Linked DNA regions of Homo sapiens: all the other regions are linked to region 3. Evidence: promoter capture Hi-C in human tissues and cell types (Jung and others, 2019). All regions are on one chromosome and are shown on one strand. The core of a region is centred on a gene start or on the middle of the fragment in contact, and the rest is flanking DNA. Distances in the headings are between cores, read along the strand shown.

Region 1 (2,711 bases), core at 133-2,632, 170 kb before region 3:
TATTTGGATATTTTGATTCTCCTTCCACAAATGAAGAAAATAAGGATCAAAGAAGTTGCATGGTTCATCAATAGTTACAAAGGTAACTAGTGGGATAATTGGGACTTGAACCAGGACTGTTTGACTGTAGCTTCAGGACAAGGTGCTTTTGGTCCTAATGAGATTCCCACCCACAAACCTCTCCTATAAAGCAGTTCTGGAATCTGAATTCCTTTTTCATTTCCCTTCATAAAGTCCAAGCCCTCTCTTTGCTATATATGTGTGGAGGCTAAAACAATTCCATCTTGGATGCTAACCCACCATGTTGACTCCTAATTGACCCTGTTCTGGGAAGCCCTCTAAGATTTCCAGTTTATCTATTGTCCCTTGTGTAAGAGCATGTACTTGCCACGAATCCTGTCCTTAAGTCTAAACAACCTTGAGATTATCATACTTCAGTTGTCTGACACATCCCTTCTGAATCATGTACACCCTTTCCCTGTGGTATATAAGCTCTGTGTCTGGAAGGTATAATGGCACTGGAATCCATCCTCTTGCTGGGTGCAGTGGCTCACGCCCATAATCCTAACACCTTGAGAGGCCGAGGCAGGGGTATCACCTGAGGTCAGGAGTTGGAGATCAGCCTGACCAATATGGTGAAACCCTGTCTCTGCTAAAAATACAAAATTAGCTGGGCGTAGTGGCACATGCCTGTAATCCCAGCTACTTGGGAGGCTGAGGCAGGAGAATCGCTTGAACCCGGGAGGTGGAGGTTGCAGTGAGCTGATATCATGACATTGCACTCCAGGCCTGGGCAACAAGAGCGAAACTCAGTCTCAAAAAAAAACAACAACAACAAAAAAACCCACCCTCTTGTCTTGCGGCTGCTGAAGACACAGACAAGGCTTCTGTTTATAAGTCCTTATTAAAAGTTTCTTTTGGAGAAACTGGACTTGTCAGCTTCTTTCTTCAGCCTCTCAGCTTCCTTGGACTTTGTGGGTAGGTTTGCATATGTCTGTCTTCCGTGGACAGTGTGCCATTGAAATAAAGATTTAATGTCGCAAACTTCCTTGTCTTGTACAGGTATGTCTGGTGGCTGTCCTCAGCCCCAGGGACTGAGGTATAGATAACAGTATATATAACTTCATCTTAATCCTCACAAGCGTTTCTAAGCAACATTTTGACTGATGCAAGAGCTGACATTGCAGAAGCAGCTGTTCATTCTGTTGTCTCCAATGACATGGGACAGTCTTCCTCCTTAATTAGGAACAGGATGTATGTATGATTTATATCCCCAAGCAATGCCTGTCTAACAGGTGAAGTCTCAATAGTCAATATTTGAAATATTCCTTTATAAAGCCTAAAGTTAATACAACAGAATGTGAACGGCAAAATTGCAGACACACCAGTCCGTGGTAAAACTCCTTATTTTTCTGTATCTTCACTATGTATGAAGTAAATGTGGCAATACATATAGAGGCCTAGGACTATAGAATTTTAAAGCTTCAATTTGTTTCATTTTGGGGTTAATGACCTTGTGCTTGGAGGAAATTTTGAAATGGGTTGGGGGTAGTTTTATTACTGCACAGGACATGAATTATGCATAAATAAGTGGAAAGGATACTAGAATTATTTCAAAGAATAGAAACTTGGTCATTTAAAACACATTACATTTTTTCTAATTATACAATGAATATTTATTATAGATAATTTTGAAACAAAAAATGTGTAAAGAAAAAAACCTACTCTTAATACCCCAAATCAAGTACGTTAACATTTTTGGTATATTTCCTTCCAGTCTTTTTTCAACATGTTGCTACATAAACATGTGCTCATGTTTACAAAATTGGGATCAAATGAATTATGCTGAAATTGAAAATATAGTTTTATATTCTTTGCTTTTTTGTTACTTATGATTGTATCAAGAAATTTCCTCATTCCACTAAATATTCTTTGAAAATGTATATTTTTAAATTTATTCCTTTCTTGGGACATTCTGGTTTGTTTTTAGAATTAAGAGTATGATTAAATATTCCTATGTTTTTATATGCCAAATTGTGAAATCCCTGCATACAAGCAAAGTGATGCAAAAACGAGGAAAACTTATTGAAGACATAGTAGTTTATGTAAAATTGACTTAACATTAACATTACCTGTTGACAATGCTTTAGCATTAACCTCCCTGTACGGTGCTTTACTCATCTGTAAGATGGAGGTGACACACTGTTTTTTTTTGTTTTTTTTTTTGTTTTTTTTAAGATGGAGTCTCGCTCTGTTGCCAGGCTGGAGTGCAGTGGCACCATCTCGGCTCACTGCAACCTCTACCTCCTGAGTTCAAGCGATTCTCCTGCCTCAGCTTCCCGAGTAGCTGAGATTACAGGTGTGCACCACCACACCCAGCTAATTTTTGTATTATTAGTAGAGACAGGGTTTCAGCCTCTTGGTCAGGATGGTCTTGATCTCCTGATCTCATGATCTGCCCACCTCGGCCTCCCAATGTGCTGGGGTTACAGGTGTGACAACATAGGTAATTGTTTACTTGTATTTGGTTTACACAGTACACTCCTCCAAACACCCTCCTTTCTGTGCTCCAATTGGAATGCTACCCATGTCCCAGCAGTGATCGATGTAGCTGATGGTGCTGATCAATTGAATAATTGTTGTCAACTTCAGAAGAAATGCCTTTTATTAATGCCATTGCTTGACTAATAGATTTCCCTTTAAATGCCAAG
Region 2 (2,706 bases), core at 118-2,617, 150 kb before region 3:
TGAGTGGCGGCCCTGCAACTGCTCTGCATGTTGGGACAGAAGCAAGCTGCACATTTTAGCAACAGCTTTGAGTTTCTGCTATTGTTCCCCTTCAAGGGCTCTCATCTAGAAGAATGGGTCCATGGGGTGCTGAGAAAGATCAGGGAGAAAAACAACTAGAAAAAAAAAATTCTCTTCATCTTGGCAGCCATTCATGATCACAACTTGAAAGATGACATTCAGGACAATGGTTTGGAGCTCCTGAAAAGCCATCCTGTGGGCCCCCATCTTTGCTGAAGTTTCCAGCTGTCGGGACCAGGTTGGCATGAGACAAATGGACTAAATTTGCCAGCTCACCTAGTTGTCCTTGAGGCCGGAGTCTGGACAGAGGTCACTCAAGCCTGCTGACCATGTGTTCACCTGTACTCCTGTGGTGATGGCGGGTAATGGAGCCAGCACCACCGTTGGCAAGATCCATCACTGTCTGCGTTCATTCATTGGAACATGTTTGATGCCCACAATGTACCCACCTGAGTAGGATCTGAGAGAAGCCTCCATTTCTTCTCTCAGAGTCACAGGCAAGTGGGGAGCACAGACAAGTGGGCTTCATAATGTGGTGTGATGAGGACCAGGCAGGACACCAGAGAGGTGCAGGGGAAGGACACTCAGCCCAGCCCGGCCTAGGGGTGATGCTCAAATTATGGCTTTTAGGACCATTATGAGTGGAACAGTGTTCCCTGCAAGAAAGATATGTGGGAATCCTCAGCCCCAGTACCTCAGAATGTGCCATTATTTGGAATTAGGTCCTTTACAGGGGTAATCAAGTTAAAATGAGGTCATTAGAATGGGCTCCAACCCAGTATGACTAGTGTCCTTATAAAAAAGGGAAGGTTCGGGCCGGGCGTGGTGGCTCACGCCTGTAATTCCAGCACTTTGGGAGGCCAAGGCGGCCAGATCGCGAGGTCAGGAGATCGAGACCATCCTGGCTAACACAGTGAAACCCCATCTCTACTAAAAAAATACAAAAAAATTAGCCAGGCGCGGTGGCAGGCGCCTGTAGTCCCAGCTACTTGGGAGGCTGAGGCAGGAGAATGGCGGGAACCCGGGAGAGGGAGCTTGCAGTGAGCCGAGATCGCGCCACTGCACTACAGCCTGGGAGACAGAGCGAGACTCCATCTCAAAAAAAAAAAAAAAAGGGAAGGTTTGGGCACAGGAACAGCCGCGCACACAGGGGGAGTGCCATGTGATGATTGGAGTTATGCCGCCACAAGCCAGGGACCCACCAGAGTCTGGGAGAGAGGCCCTCACACCTTCGGAGGGAGCATAGCCCTGGCGAGCATCTTGATTTCAGACTTCTGGTCTCCAGAACTGAGACCATACATTTCTGTTGCTTTAATACACCCAATTTGAGGTATGTTGTTAGGAAGGAACTAGGAAACGAATACAAGAACTCAGGGGCTATCCAGGTGGAGAAAGAGGGCTGGACACTCCCAGCCCCGGTGTGGAGACGGGGACCCTGGCGCACTTGTTGGCATAACTGAGAAACAGGAACAGGCATGTGGGGCCACCATAGTAGTTGAGGCTGAAGGGGCTGGAGCGGGAGGGGGCCCCTTTCCTTCTGCTATGGTTTAAATGTTTGTGTCTTCTCCAAAATTCCTGTTGAAACTTAATTCCCAATGCAATAGTGTTGCAAGGTGAGGCCTTTAGGAGGTGAGTAGGCCATGGGGGCTTGGCCCTTATGAATGGATTAGTGCCTTATAAAAGGGCTTGAAGGGGCAACTTCATCCCTCCTGTCCCGTCTGCTGTGTGAGGACACAGTGCTCCTCCCCTCTGGAGGATGCAGCAACAAGACACCAACTTGCAAGCAGAGAGCAGCCCTCCCCAGACACACATGGAATCTGCCAGTGCCCAGGTCCTGGGCTTTCCAGCCTCCAGAACTGTGAGAAATAAAAAGTTTATGTTCTTTATAAGTTACCCAATCTCAGGTATTTTGTTTTTGCTGCAGGAAATGATTAGGATACTCTTTCTCTACCCCTGGATGACCCCTGAGTCAGGTATTAGTTTCCTAGTTGCTGCTGTAACAAAGGCTGGAGAGGAGGGTATTGCTTAATCATGAAGACCTCGGCCTGATGCCATACTAAGGAGTGTGGGTTTTATCCTAAGAGCAATGCGAGTACAAAGGAACATCAACACAGCCCACTTGCCCCCTTGGCAGCCTAGCAGAGACTGCTGCAAGGGGAGGAGCTCAGGGAGGGAGGCACCAATGTTCTGCACAGGCTAGCACGCGACCCAGCCTGGGCTCAAGGAGGTCTGATCTCACATGGGTCTGATCTGCTGTGAATGGTGCAGGAGGCTTAATTTCACCCGTCTCCCCATGCCTCAGTTTCCTCCCTTCCGTCCCAGCCACAGAAACCACTGAATCAGATTGCAGAGGGATTTGGCCACACAGGAAAATGCTTTGACCTCTCTGAAGGAGAAGCGCCTCACAACTGTACATTTCATTATATTATCAGTGTTATTAATAAACTCTTCCCTGCTGGAAAGCCTGCTGTATTGTTTTCAACTCTCTGCTGGGAGGTCATGCTCAGTATTTGATTTCTCTCCATTCATACCTCCCCTTTTCCCAAACTGTCTCTTTTTTAAGACTCGATTTCAGGCCCACATTACCTTAGGACCAGTTTTCCCTTTGTGTTTTTCTGTCACCTCCTTTTAAAGTGACTCTTGTGG
Region 3 (3,055 bases), core at 104-2,603:
GTTACCTGGTGGACTCCTGCTTGTAGATGTCAATGATATTTTCCACCAGCAGGTTCCTCTGAAGTCCATATACCCCATGTCTATCCAAAACCACTTCATGTCTACAGGATGGGCAGCGGAATCGGCCCCCTGATGCCATGGTGGTACCTCCTCTTGTGGGCAAATACGGGTTAGAGGCCTGTTCTTGCCAAGTAAGAAAAAAGGAATTGGGTAATGCCACAAGCAGCTTCTCTGAGACTTATTTTCACTCTCTGCTACTACAAACAACATGAACTTCTACTTTAAGCTTGCCATAAGATCATCCCTCAGGGCTTTCTCAGCAAGTGGTCCTGAAACACAGGGTCAGACCTTATCCACAGTCATCTGCGAATATACCATTGTCCACGTAAGGTGCTTTTCCGTCCACCACTTTCAGAACCAAAAGTTCCAGCCAGAAACTCCACACTCATGTCTTCAGCAGTTACTCATTTATAGTTTTGAAACACATTAAATGGTTTGACTTAAAAAAAAATATGATTCTTAGTATTAAAATAAAACTAGATTTGGGAGTAAAGAGGACACAAACCAAATCATTAAAAGAAACGTGTTTTTCTTGAAAGTAAATGCAACTTTATAAAGTTTTTTTGTTTGTTTGTTTTTCTTTTTTTGAGACAGAGTCTTGCTCTGTTGCCCAGGCCGGAGGGCAATGGCACGATCTCCGCTCGCTGCAATGTCCGCCTCCTGGGTTCAAGCAATTCTCCTGCCTCAGCCTCCCAAGTACCTGAGATTATAGGTGCCCGCCACCATGCCCAGCTAATTTTTTTTTTTTTGTATTTTTAGTGGAGATGGGGTTTTGCCATGTTGGCCAGCCTGGTCTCGAAGGCCTGACCTCAGGTGATCCACTGGCCTCAGCCTCCCAAAGTGCTGGGACTACAGGCGTGAGCCAAAGCGCCCGGCAACCTTATAAAGTTTTTTAAAGGATTTCACCTCAATGTTAAGCACTTGATTCCAAGAGGAGGGAATCTTTTCCACCCCCTCCCCTCAACCAAATTCCAAACAAACCTACCTGGAAAATATCACTGGCACATTTCCTACACAGGTTGTGCTGACAAGGGAGAATCACCACAGGTTTCGTGAACATCTCTAAGCAGATGGGACAGATGAGTTGCTTCTCTAAGTTATCCATGGTCTGCTGCTCTTTGGAAAAAGATTTGTAATTCAGAGATGCGCTCATCTCCTCGCTGTCCCCAAGTGTGCTGCCAGGGAAGGGTGCTGCGAGTGGCTCCAGCAAGTGTTTCCTGGATATTATTCCAGGGATTGTGTGATCAAGTGTCCTTTACGTTTCTCTCGGTGGAGGACATTGTTTCAGGCCCTGGTTTGGAGTGGGTGCTGGAGCTGTTTTTAGCAGCCTGCGGTCACGTGACGGTGGGCTGACGTGTCCATATAAGCCAGTGACAGGAGGATGGATCCTGACAGGTGACGGAGAGCAGGAGTCAACATTCTTGCCCCAGGGAGTGAAGAGAGTGGGTGGGAAGGAGGATTACAAACCCCATTTAGACGGGGTTGTGAGGAGAAGGAGGTCGAAGCTGACAGTTGTCAACAACAAATGCAAATGTGCATGCCTAGCCACTGAACCATGCCCTCTGTGAGCACTCACTGAGAACTTGGCGATGGCTTCTCCAGGAAGGGGCAGAACGCAGCACAGAGTCTGTGTAACTAATGCCAGCCCTGTCTTGAGAGTGTAGGAATTGAGTCACGGAAAGTAGCCTAATAGCACCTTCTTAGGTGAAAATGAACAAAACATGTCTCGAAAATTGTTATCCTGGCTTCACAAAGGCAATCATCAAAAAGACTTTCTTAATGTTAAGTATTTCATCTTTGTCAGCTGGGGTTGTGGTCTTTGAAAAATTCCAATTTAAAAGCTAAATTCAAATCCCTTCACCATAAAGGTATCCACCTAATAAATAAATAAATACATGCATAAATAAAAATTCAAAACCAGTGGATGATCTAATTATTTGAGAAAAAAGTTACATTATAAAACAACTCTAGTATGCTGTTTGCTCTTCCACATTGCTTTCCTCTTCCTTGGCCCTCTTTCATCCTATACTGCCCCACCTCCTACATACACCCAAAAACACAAAGAAAATTTGATAGTCTTTTACTGATTATTTAAATTCTTAAATTATATAATAGTTTGCAACAATAATCTGTAATGAGGTAGTAACTGGCAGGCACCTGGAGGTGGCAGATCTATTATTTTATTTTGTCATCCCTTGGGGGACAGTTACCAGTGCCATTGACAACTGAAGTATAAATGGAGTCCTACTTCCATATCTGCATTTCATCTGCCTCCAAAATACCTATTCTCCCTTGCATTTCCCCTTCCTCCAAGGTGACTTGTTAAACCATAGTTTCTCTGGTCATTTCTGATATTCTTGGTCTGCTCTTGAGTCATAAACATCGATTCTGACATTCATCAGGATTTTGTGAAGCAACAGTTTAACCAATACATATTGTATTTAAAAATGTTTAAATCAGATCAAAAATAAAAAAGAAATCCAAGTCTGTTTATATGTGATAAATTTCGGCTTTCTTTCTCCTTCATTTTAAAAACCTTGGGCAATAAACACATTTTGTTAACATATCCCTGGTGTGAATTAAATTACCAGTGAAGTGTAGGTCAGTTATGTGTGGTCTTAGTGCTGTGTGCACGGAGAGCTTATTGAGAATCTAGTAAGCTCTATTAACTAATAATAAGTTATATATATTCATAAGCATATCAGGGATCTTTAGAGAATTATCTTAGTCCTTTCAATATTTATTTAGCAACTACAGGGAGGACGGGAACTGGTAAAGTTTTTTTACTGAGTTACTTTGGTTCACCCAGCCTAGGCAGTTAATTGTGTTTATCAATTCATGGGCTATGGAGGGGAGGTCTGAGTACAATATGTGGGATATTTTCTAGGAAAGATTAAGTTTCTACTGCAAAAGACCTTGCTATCTAAGTAAAAGCACTTAGACTAATCATGCACATTGCAGCAGAGTCTTTTCTTTTAGAAGGAATTCATTCCTT

The links. The method cuts DNA at HindIII sites, captures the fragments that hold promoters and counts their contacts. A contact is called where the count stands out against the background at its distance.
Region 1: a contact is called between a fragment that was not itself captured here and the fragment with the promoter of TRIM55 in region 3, in 5 of the 25 tissues and cell types used here (H1 embryonic stem cells, bladder, lymphoblastoid cells and 2 more).
Region 2: a fragment that was not itself captured here is called in contact with the fragment with the promoter of TRIM55 in region 3 in 1 of the 25 tissues and cell types used here (H1 embryonic stem cells).

Annotation. Positions count from the first base shown.
Region 1 is chr8:66,300,506-66,303,216 of GRCh38, reverse strand. All of the region lies in intron 1 of LOC102724687 (a long non-coding RNA gene), which reads left to right. Among named protein-coding and RNA genes, the nearest start is that of LINC00967, 110 kb to the right of the region's middle. The HindIII fragment of the contact is 6,401 bases long and covers 1-2,711 here.
Region 2 is chr8:66,277,641-66,280,346 of GRCh38, reverse strand. The region is part of intron 1 of LOC102724687 (a long non-coding RNA gene); the gene reads left to right. Among named protein-coding and RNA genes, the nearest start is that of LINC00967, 87 kb to the right of the region's middle. The HindIII fragment of the contact is 5,569 bases long and covers 1-2,706 here.
Region 3 is chr8:66,125,427-66,128,481 of GRCh38, reverse strand. It overlaps TRIM55 (tripartite motif containing 55), which reads right to left and starts at 1,353. Exons shown (of 10, transcript NM_184085.2): 1 at 1,046-1,353; 2 at 6-178. The coding sequence starts at 1,213. RefSeq lists a silencer at 1,535-1,807. The HindIII fragment of the contact is 11,068 bases long and covers 1-3,055 here.